Regions from separate parts of the Homo sapiens genome. Here all the other regions are linked to region 2. The links are contacts of gene promoters, found by promoter capture Hi-C in blood cells and fetal thymus (Javierre and others, 2016). All regions are on one chromosome and are shown on one strand. Each heading gives the region's core, a stretch centred on a gene start or on the middle of the fragment in contact. The rest is flanking DNA. Distances are from core to core; before and after follow the strand shown.

What was found. The method cuts DNA at HindIII sites, captures the fragments that hold promoters and counts their contacts. A CHiCAGO score of 5 or more calls a contact.
Region 1: a contact is called between a fragment that was not itself captured here and the fragment with the promoter of OR13D1 in region 2, in 2 of 17 cell types (M2 macrophages and endothelial precursors). The highest score is 7.3, in M2 macrophages.
Region 3: a fragment that was not itself captured here is called in contact with the fragment with the promoter of OR13D1 in region 2 in 1 of 17 cell types (endothelial precursors); the score reaches 5.5 in endothelial precursors.

The regions. Positions count from the first base shown.
Region 1 is chr9:101,670,873-101,674,479 of GRCh38, forward strand. GRIN3A (glutamate ionotropic receptor NMDA type subunit 3A) reads right to left here. Exons shown (of 9, transcript NM_133445.3): 3 at 1-235. Among named protein-coding and RNA genes, the nearest start is that of GRIN3A, 66 kb to the right of the region's middle. The HindIII fragment of the contact is 1,519 bases long and covers 1,163-2,681 here.
Region 2 is chr9:104,693,054-104,697,138 of GRCh38, forward strand. OR13D1 (olfactory receptor family 13 subfamily D member 1) reads left to right here and starts at 1,465. Exons shown (of 1, transcript NM_001004484.2): 1 at 1,465-2,409. The coding sequence starts at 1,465. The coding sequence ends at 2,409. The region is part of intron 1 of LOC107987105 (a long non-coding RNA gene); the gene reads right to left. The HindIII fragment of the contact is 5,977 bases long and covers 986-4,085 here.
Region 3 is chr9:101,689,831-101,693,764 of GRCh38, forward strand. All of the region lies in intron 1 of GRIN3A (glutamate ionotropic receptor NMDA type subunit 3A), which reads right to left. Among named protein-coding and RNA genes, the nearest start is that of GRIN3A, 47 kb to the right of the region's middle. The HindIII fragment of the contact is 5,431 bases long and covers 1-3,934 here.

The DNA.
Region 1 (3,607 bases), core at 672-3,171, 3.0 Mb before region 2:
TAGCTTACTTGGATGTTGGAAGTGGGTTTTGTGTCTCTGGGCCTGCTCTGGCCATATTCCATAGTCCATGACAATCTTTCCCCCCTGCCAGCTGCCCAAGCGGGTCCACATTGGCTTTCCCATGGGGTCATGTTGAAGATTCCAGATGAAAAAGTTGTTTTCTGAGCTGACGATGGTGGAACCTTTTACTCTGATGGAACCACTGAGGCCTCTGAAAGTGGTATTGGCTAGAAACCTGGGAAAGAGGAGCAAAGGCAAAAAGTAAGAAAAGCAGTGAGGCCTAAGATAGGAAGCAGTGTTCAGCTTTGCTTCCTTGTCTTAATAAAAATAAATTCGAATTTTTATTTAAAAAGACAGTGCCTATAATTTCTTCAAATGTTAATAAGCTGGACTCATTCTCTATTATAGGAGTAAAGTCCTATTGCACTAAGCAAATGAGATTTCACTCTCAGGTTCTAATATTCTAGCCAGGTGCTTGACTCTTAGTCTTACTCCAAATGTTTTAATTCCTAGTTAAGAGATGTGTTAACCATTTTCTGTTGTAAACTGTTAATTGCATATTCTCACAACTTTTCAAGCTATGGAGGTTTTCAGCATCTTTAACATATCCTATTTCTATTGTTGACTATGTTCAATTGTAACTACACCTTCTATTTATCTATGTATCTATCGATCTATCTAGATATTTGGCACAGGGAATGAGATTAAAAAGTATGCATATACTTTAATAATTGCTTAAACACTGCATTCATAACATTAGAAAATAGCCAAATCTTGTTACCAATGTTTCTTCTTGTGGAATGAAATCAGTTAACATAACTGTCCCCGTGAGGCTAGTTGAAGCTGCATGTTGGATCTCATCCATGGAACAAAGGAAAAGATGATAAATCAACTTGCACTTTTAAGGATAGCCTCAGGCTAGCCTCCCTCCAAGTCATTAGAGAGAAACAATTGGCCCTGGTTCTAGAGAGAGCTTATGCCAGAAGCCACAGAAAGGAAAATTACCAACTAAATAATATAGTGATTCCTAACCCTGTGAACTAGGGCACTTACAGTATATGTTCTGATATGGACTAGACAGAAAAACTAGACTAATATGGCTTGGTCTTAGCCTATGTCTTTTTTGAGTCTGGGAAGATTAGACAGTAAGAGGTAACATATAAGCTTGTGGCATATTAATGGCAATAATAAAGATTAATGTGGCTTGTGGCCTTGTGTTAGAATAAAAGCCCAGGCTTTGGCATCAGATCCACCCCCATTTGAATATTGGTCTAGCCACCTGCTAACATGGCCCTTGAACAATTTACTTGAACAATTTACTTAACTCTATGCTTTAGTTTTGTCACCAGCAAAATAGAGAAAATACTTCCTTCATTACAAGAGTTGGAAATAATTTATGTAAAGCACATGCTACATCTAACTTGGAACAAATATTCCAGATATGGTAACTCTGACTTAATGTCATTCAAGTTTTTTTCAGTCAAGGCTGTCTCCAGGTTACTTTTTCCAATAATTTTAATACAATTTTAAAAGTGGGAAACACAAAGTATTGCATTATGATAAATCCATGGCAGTTACTCAAGACACATTTCAAATTAAAAGAAATTAAATTGAAATGTAGAGTGGAACACAGTAGGTATTTTGAAAAATCAGATGATGTAAGTGTAGGCTCTTAGCAAAACATATTCACCCATTGCCTGTCACAAATATTACTCTATAATTTACAAATACAAATAGAAGAAATAAGACATTATGTTGCCACAGAAGGGACATAGAAAAATCAGAAAGTGTGAAGTACGTACTAATTTTCATTAGAGATATAAATGTAAATCACATTTGAAGATGCTACTATCAATCAATGCAGTGAAACTGTTCATTTTGGAAGATTGTTTGTAATGGTAATTATTCATGTTAGTACTCCCCAGTGGGATTCTACCACTTAAATTCTATTTTGCAACAAGTAATGAAGTCTCAGCTATCTTAGATTTTGAAGTAGTTTTCTGCTTCTTTAGAGAAGGAGCCAAATCATTAAAATATACAGATTAATCAATTGATAATTACCTAGGTACTATAAGGGAAAGCTGATACACTTGTTTATAAGAAATCTACTTTTAGATTTGTTAAAACACACACATATACATACTTGCTGATATAAGAAATAAACAGTTAGTAGTAAGTAGGTTAATTTCTTCTGGTCAATTTACTGATCAGGAAAGTAAAGAGGAAGTTGTGGAAAGAGGAACCCTTCATTATTTTAAGAATGTTTGAGGCTTAATGATTATAGATTCTTAACTGGATGGACCCTTGAGAGAGTACCTTTGACCAAATATATGCTTAAACCATATCAGAAAAAGGCACTAGAAATCTTCAGAAAATTTCCAGAGATTACACAACTCTGTCATTCCAGTAAAACCTATTACTGATTATTGGTATTAAATAACATTTAAGATGGCCATGATAGAGGGACAAGGCCCAGTTGTCTTTGAGCCAGTCATTTTCCAAAGAAGGCAAATCAATAGGGACCTGAATATCTCCAGTTTTCCCAGCCCAGAAAATCCAATGCTTGTTTCACTACTGGCTCCAAAAAATTGGGTCCCAGAGAATCACCATTTATGACAGATTATTTGTGTCTGTTTCATTTTTAGTCTTACGATAAGGGTGAATCAAAATAATCTCATGAAAGCTTTAATTATAGTCACCTGTACTAATGGAATGACAATGCATAGCAAAATATAAATGCTCACTAAATTAGTTAAAATATCAAAAGGCTGAAATCCTGATTTTGCTTAAATTGAATTCCATCACATTCCTTTTTTATCTTGCCCTTTACTCTTCTTGGATAAACAAGGAGAAAAATCAGGAATAGTTTTACTGGCACCATAAACTGACAAACTCCTGGGCACTCTTCCAACTCTAGAGTTACAGGGATGAAAGACAAACTCATTGGTCTCAAGGAGCTCAAGAAGGTCAAAGTCTAATTCTGGGGAGAGAGAAAGTGAGCAGGCAATTCAGACCCGCATAATGGGCATCATGATAGAGGTAAATCTGGTGTCACTGGAACAGAGAGCAAGAGCACCTGCACATTCTACTATAGGGTGCCAAGGAAAGTTTCGTAGAGGAGGAAGTGCCAGAGCTGAGTCTTGAAGAAGGAATTACAGTAAGCCAGGAAGAGAAGCTGGGAAATGATGTTGTCATCTCAAGGAAATACAAATACAAAGGCCAGAGACAGAGAGTGTGAGCTGTTTGACGATAAGAGATGAAAAATAAGGAGGGAGATGAGGATAGGAAATGAATTACATCAGATCTGAGGCTACAGTGAAGACAACAAGGAGGCATTGAGGGGAATTTGTCTGGGGGGAGTCATGATCATTCGATTTAATTTTACAATGATTTTTTTCCTTGCTAGTTATATAGGACATAGTTTGGAAGGAGGAGGGGACTGAACATAAGTCCACATGTGAGGAACAATGCTTCTTCCTTCTTTCTTTTGCTTCCTCTTTTACTCTCTCTCTGCTAGTCTCATAAAGGGCTTAAGGTGGTAAGGGCTAAGGCAGTAGCAGAAATGGAGAGGAGATGGTATAATCAAGAGATATTTTGTTTTCAAAAA
Region 2 (4,085 bases), core at 215-2,714:
GTGTAGTGGAGCATGCCAGTAATCTCAGCTACTCGGGAGGCTGAGGCAGGAGAATCGCTTGAATGTGGGAGGTGGAGGTTGCAGTGAGCTGAGATCGCGCCATTGCACTCCAGCCCAAGCAACAGAGCAAGATTCCGTCTTAAAAAAAAAAAAAAAAAAAAAAAACAGCGAGAGAAAAGAAAAGAAAACTGAGCAGACCACAATCAAAAGCTACAGGAAAAAGTAAGTGGTCCAGCCTTCAGAGTTCTCCATCACATCACATATGATCAGAATCACAAGTAAATGATGTTTGCTGTCTCACTGTACCCCAACAGAAGATACATTTTTGTAATAGTCTTCTCTTGCGTGGAATCTGTGTAGTAACCACTGAGAGAGAGTAGTGTATGGTGGGTAAAAGGGCTGATTCTATAGCCAGATGGCTAGATATTGAATTCTGGCTTTAGTATTTACTATCTGTATGACCTTGAGAAAGTTACTTAAACTTTTCTTTGTCTCTGTTTCCTACTTTGTAAAATGGCAGTAATACTACACTTAAGAAGAGAGAATCCCAGGGCCTGGAAAAAAAGCTGTACATGCTGGGACCTAGACTCCTTAATCTCTGGAAGCTTCTAGAACAGTCCTCCAATGATTCTCAGACTCCTAACAGGTTTTTGAAAGAAGTGCAATGAAATATCCCACTGAGAACAAAAATGTTCACAGTCTGTCAAGTGTGGTTTCAAACTTTAAACCTTTTACCTTTAAAAAGCTAAATCTACTTTTCCCTTTTAAGATTGGTAGATCTAAATATTATACTATAATTCATAAAATGCATGTGTATAAAAATACATTTAATATTATATCTTGTATAAGGTAAATATAATTATATTACATATATGCATACACACACACACACACACATATGCCATGTTGGAACCATTAGGTTCTAGGCACCTAATATTTTATCTAATTCTAACTATACTCTAAGAAATAATTATTGCTTTTTCCAAGCTTACTATGAACTATCTGCAACTCAGAAAAATAAACAACTTACCAAAGCTACATCCAGGTTAAATGATATGTCACTGGCAGTCTATAAAATCTTTTAAATAGAGGCCAGCTTCATCAAAAAAACAGCTTTAAGTTCAAAATCTCTTTCTACATTTGAAAGCAGCATGTTCCTAAACTTTATTTGACACTTCCCAGAATAATTCTGGCAGTATTGGTAGCTTTGAATGTGCTGCTGTGTAGTCCTAAGATATATTGGGTTTCTCAATGTCTCAATTTTCATAATCAATAAAACTAGTACAATATCCATACTGTTTTGCTTACTGAGAGTATTCTAAGAATCAAACACAATATCGGAAGCAAATTTGTATTGAAAATTTGTAGATGTACAGATTTACAGATTTTGATGTATCAAACATTTCAATTTACCTGAATCATGTCCTTTTCTATACTACCCAGCAGGCAGGTGACCTAGAACACATGGAGACAAGAAATTACTCTGCCATGACTGAATTCTTTCTGGTGGGGCTTTCCCAATATCCAGAGCTCCAGCTTTTTCTGTTCCTGCTCTGCCTCATCATGTACATGATAATCCTCCTGGGAAATAGCCTCCTCATTATCATCACCATCTTGGATTCTCGCCTCCATACTCCCATGTATTTCTTTCTTGGAAACCTCTCATTCTTGGACATCTGTTACACATCCTCATCCATTCCTCCAATGCTTATTATATTTATGTCTGAGAGAAAATCCATCTCCTTCATTGGCTGTGCTCTGCAGATGGTTGTGTCCCTTGGCTTGGGCTCCACTGAGTGTGTCCTCCTGGCTGTGATGGCCTATGACCACTATGTGGCCATCTGCAACCCACTGAGGTACTCCATCATCATGAACGGAGTGCTGTATGTGCAAATGGCTGCATGGTCCTGGATCATAGGCTGTCTGACCTCCCTATTGCAAACAGTTCTGACAATGATGTTGCCTTTCTGTGGGAATAATGTCATTGATCATATTACCTGTGAAATTTTGGCCCTTCTAAAACTTGTTTGTTCAGATATCACCATCAATGTGCTTATCATGACAGTGACAAATATTGTTTCACTGGTGATTCTTCTACTGTTAATTTTCATCTCCTATGTGTTTATTCTCTCTTCCATCCTGAGAATTAATTGTGCTGAGGGAAGAAAGAAAGCCTTCTCTACCTGTTCAGCGCACTCGATTGTGGTCATCTTATTCTACGGTTCAGCCCTTTTTATGTACATGAAACCCAAGTCAAAGAACACTAATACATCTGATGAGATTATTGGGCTGTCTTATGGAGTGGTAAGCCCAATGTTAAATCCCATCATCTATAGCCTCAGGAATAAAGAGGTCAAAGAGGCTGTAAAGAAAGTCCTGAGCAGACATCTGCATTTATTGAAAATGTGAAAAACCTTGGGCATGCGATATCCTCAATGGGGCAAGAGAGCTTGTCTTTTGTATTTAGATACTGCAAAACCTACTGTCACGAGAGCTTGTGTGTTTGCAAAACCAACTATTAGATTCCCATTCTTTTCAACGTAGAATTTTCATGCTCATGTAACCTTCTTAATAGTGCCTTGTCTGCTGGGTTTGTAGCTGTAAGCAGTTCTGCAAACTGGCCCTATAAAAATATTGATGCTGTCCATTAAAATGAATCTCTCTCTCTCACTCAGTCTCTCTCTCTGTCTGTCTCTCTTTCTTCTCTCTCCTGCCATGTGTGTGTCTCTCTCTACTCCTCTGATTTTGTCCTCTCTCTCTATTCTGCTACTCTCTCTCCTCTCCTCCGTATATTTTCTTTCTCTTCCTTTCTTTTCTGTTGTCTCCTTTCTCAGTCACTTTGAAGTGGATATATAGTTGTTGTGCAGCATCCCTGCACAATATTGCCACCCAATTGACAGATCTGCATAATATATATTAATAGAAAGATGTATATTTTTCTTTTAATGAACCAAAGTCCCCCACTCTCAGTCTATGTTGTACATGGTGGGGCTGACCCAAACCTCTGAAAATAAAGATAAGCATGGAAGAGGTCTTGGCAAAAAAAAAAAAAAAAAAGAAAGAAAGAAAGAAAGAAAGAAAGAAAGAAAGAAAGAAAGAAAGAAAGAAAGAAAGGATGTCTAATTCCTCTAGTCATAGTGATTGGTATAGTGCAGGATGTGACCCGAGCCATACTAATTAGACTCCATCCCAGGAATGCTGCCTTTGTCAGAAAGACACACTGTTTTTTGAAATGGTGTCTAAACTGGTAGAATGTTAACTCAGAATTCCTACTGGCAACCATTGCCAATATGTGAGGACAGCATGAGAATGAAAGCAGAGCTGAGATACAGAGTGTGCTTGATGGTGTCACTTTAACTCTTGAACGCAGCTGTAGCTAAAGCCAGATTCACCGTTGCAGATTTTATTTATGAGTCAAATTAGCATTTTATGAAAAACTAATTTGACCTGGATTTTACCACATACGACAAAATAAATCCTAATATATTCCTTTGTCCTATCTTCCTCTCCATCCTCTTACATTTTAAGGCAATAATAATAATAACAAGGTATGTAATCTGAGAGGTTCCAAGTTCTCCAGCCTGTAGGAGTTCCCTTTCTCATTAATAACTAAATTACAATAATCTAACCTCTATTCTGCATTACTTCAGGCATTTCAGTCATCTCCCCAATTATTTCTATGGAGCATTTACGTTTCTAATTTTTTGTTCTCATATTTTTCATCAAATTGATTTATGGACTTCTTACCATTTTTCTCTGTGCTTCAATCAATATATTGGTACTTGAAATAACTGCATTTTGCTTTTCTACATAATGTTTTTTAGTTTAATAAACATTGTCATTTGGTGGATTATGGTAGATTACTGTGTTATATATAAATACATATAAGTAGTAATAAGCCAAATTAAGGCAGAATTCCCTTAAGGGTGTTGCATATCTGATTTTGTCCACTCTGGGGACCAGAATCATAACTGTAATAGATTAGACAGGGCTCACTTAATTCAGTTATACAGAGATATAATTCCTAGATTATATGGAACTCAGAATTTGACAAAAACAAAAATAACTAATCTATTAATCTACAG
Region 3 (3,934 bases), core at 662-3,161, 3.0 Mb before region 2:
AAATCCAGGACAAAAATTAAACAAGACCTATTGAGTAAAATTGAAAAGGAAAATCTGTGTCTTACATATGGTTTGTTGTTTGCAAAAGAGCAAGCTCATGGCCTGAAAGAAGATATAAAGATTTTAAAAGTAATTTCCATATTGTTTTTCTCCTAAATCAGAGATCCAGAAACAGAACAACTCAAGAAATAGGAAGCCTGTCTCTATCATGCAGATAGAGTGAAACTGCCTTATAGGTACATTCAATTTATCTATATTAAAATAAACAGGCTCAGAAGAGAGAGGTGGGAGGGAGAAAATATGAATTTAAATAGTACTGATAATTCTCATTCCCTTAAATAAGTGTGCTACTTATTATATTATGGTATATTATTTATATTATCACATACTTTAATGTAGCTATATTATTTTTCATATTGTATACACAAAACCATATATGTCAAGCTAAATAGGTAATTTAAAAGATTTTAAAATGTAATTTTTCTACACTTTGAATTGAATCTTCATTTCTAGTGGAGATGAAACTCCACTCTACTCCATTAATTTTGCAGGTTTTGTTCCATCATAATCTGGTTAGACATTGTTTCAGAGCCTGAAATTTCCAAAAGAATAGGGCAGGAAATATGGCTGGGGAATGTGTGTGCTGCCATGCACTCGTAGAATGAAATCCCAAGTAAGTGCAGAGCTGCAGGGAGAGAGGAGTCACCAAGAAGTTGGTTCAAAGCATCAAAGAATCATTCAGTGGTGTGGGAGAAGATTGCTTAACCCGCTATGGATCAGACTGTAAATATTAAAGTTCCATATACAGAAAAATCAGGCAAGAGTGGTAAAAATATTTGGAAAAAGAAAATGATAGGCCTTGCTTTGGAGGATATTAGAACACATTAGAAAATGTCATTTTTATAAAGCAATAATAATTAAAACAGGGAAGCACTAATAGGTACTAATAGGTACTAATGGAGTATTAAATTACTGTGTTATAAATTAAAATAACAAAGAAATAGGGAAGGAAATAGGATATTAGAATTTGAGAAAATAGATTAGTTAGAAAAATAACAATTAAATTTCTCATTACATCATATATTAAAAATATGTTCCAGGCCATTAAAGAGCTAAAAGTACAATATCAAATCATTAAAAGATAGACCAAAAGGTAAATATGTATCAGAAATTACAATAATAAAAGGAAAACATTGAATTATCACAGCACACCGTATTTTTAGTTTTAAACACCTATCATAAAAAATAAAGGAACATGAAAAACAAGAGAATATTAGTAATAAATTGGGTAGACAAAGAGTTAATGTTCACCAAATGTATAAAACATTTACTAGTCAATAAGGAAATAGAAGCCTTTACTGAACACTTATTCAATCATGAAAAATAATTTTAAGCTCCTACCTTGAGCCATGACCTCTGCATGGCATTTCCTGTTGTCTCTATGGTGGATGAGAGATAGACAATATGTAACTAACTATATGAATAAACACTTCCTATAACTAGAAGTCATGAAAATTACTGTAAATGAAATAATAGGGTCCAGCAAAACTAGGAGAGGAAGAAGAAACTAGGAAATATTAATTTAGTAATTATGATTTGTAGGGGTTGGGAGAGACGAGTATTTGTACTATACAAGCGTTCTTTAATTGGGACTTAAGAAAAAAACGAGATGTATTTGAAAACAATTGATCACTATATAGGTAAATATATATAATGATTTATAAAAGTAAACACATTTAACTAAAAATGTAGTCTCATTTTGACCATCCATTCTTCTTTGACTGGGTACTGTCTTCCTAGTCTCAGATAAATGGTTGGAGCCACCATCTGCTTCTATATTTCCTGTGCGATTCTGCATTGTCCTCTTCAGCAGGTTCTACAGTGTCCTTAAGTTCTAAGTTTTCCTTGCTGGTGGGGCCACTGTCTTCTTCAGCAGTTGGGCTTTTCTGTCCTCTTTTGAGAAGCAGTATAGAGGTTAGGACTTAGTAGTCAGGGCAACCTATGCTTAAGTTCTGTCTCCATGATTTATGCACCATGTGGCCTTTTGTAAGTCATTTAGTATCTCTGAGTCATACCTCCCTCATCTCTAAAATGAGGACAATGCTACTTCCTAACTTATGGATTCATTTTGAGAATTAAATGTAAGAATGTGAGAATGCATGGAAAGTGCCTGGCGCAGAGTGAGGGCCCATAAGTAGTAGTTGTTACAATTGACTTACAGAGTTTAGTCACTGTTGGAAGTGACTGACTGCAATACAGTATTTTTCTTTGCTTTTGCTCCTTCTCCTTTTTCTTGTCTATTTTCATACAATGGTCTCAGCAATAGATATCTTTTACAAACATAAATTACACCAACTTCTCAGCAGGAAAACAGAAGTGCTCTGTAACATATTGGGAGAGGCTGTTTATTTGGGAGATACTATGTTTACAGTAGAGTCCTCCCCACACCCCCAACTCTTCTTTCTTTAGTAACAAGCTCCAGTACCAGTCAGCATGCAAGTTAAGGAATTCTTGGTGCCAACTCCTGGAGATCCCTCATCAGTCTTTGTTCTCTCAGAGAGCACAGATTCTGCTAGTTTGTGGATTAGTAAGAGTTTCAAAAACAGGATTGCCTGCAGGAAAGAGTTTGCCACAGAGCTTTGAGATATTCCCTGACTGAATAAAAGAGGTGATGGGGCTGGGTTTAAGAGAAGAGAAAAGATGCAATTCTCTCAGCTCTTTCCTGGGCAAGGGGAACCAAATGAGCTAGGTCAAAGCCCAAAAAGCTCAAGTGAACATAATGTTTCCACTGCTTTTACCAGAGATGAAATTTCCTTCCTTTCATCCGTCTGCTGATTACTAAATACATTTGAGAGGCTCAGAACAGGCTTTCTACACAGCTATCGCTTCTCCTCAGCCAAAGAGGCTGCAGGAGGTTTTCTGTTTCTCATTATCTCACATCTCATTTGACCTATATTATACAGAAGACTTTTTCTTCTGAAAATTAAAGATTGTTCCTTTAGCAGCCCAGGCTTTTAAATAAATTAACTATTCTTATGGTTACATTAAGGACACAGACAAGCATAAGGTGTAGTCCCTGCCCAGAAATTGTAATTTAATAATAATTATACAAATGAAGAGCTAATACCTACTGATGTCCCTAGTGCCTTATGCATATTATTTTATTTCATCCTCACAATGGCCTCATGAGGTGACTGCAATGATCATCCCCCTTTAATAGAAGACAAAATCAAGGTTCAGAAAAAGTGAGTAATTTTCCCAAGGTGGCACAGCTACTAAGAAATAGAGCTTGGGCCAGGTGTAGTGGCTCATGCCTTTAATTCCAGTGCTTTGGGAGGCTGAGGTGGTAGATCACCTGAGGTCATGAGTTTGAGACCAGCCTGGCTAAGATGGTGAAACCCCATCTCAGCTAAAATATATATATATATATATATATATATATTGCACGGAGGGGTCACACGTGCCTGTAATCCCAGCTACTCAGGAAACTGAGGAACGAGAGTTGCTTGAGTCTGGAGGCAGAGGTTGCAGTGAGTCAAGATTGTGCCACTGCACTTCAGCCTGGGTGCAGAGTGAGACTCTGTCTAAAAGAAAAAAAAAATAGAGCCTGAATTCAAAACCACAATTTGTTGGACTCAAAAGCCTGTGCTTTTACCTATTATTCTATACTGTTCCCTCTACTTGATAAAAGCAACATGTGCAGTAGATCCTTGACATTTGTAGATTTAATAATTTCCAATTATTTGCCAGTAATCCTAAAGGCCCATGGAATAAAGCCACTTGTAAGGTGTCTGAGGCATGAGTTAGAATGACATTCCCTGTGTTTCTGGGCCATGGGAGTCAGGGAGTCTCCAGCCTGCTGCCCAGTGTGCACATGGCTTCCCAGCTGTTTTCTTCGCTCATCCTCCCATATGTAGCAATTCTTGTGAAATGA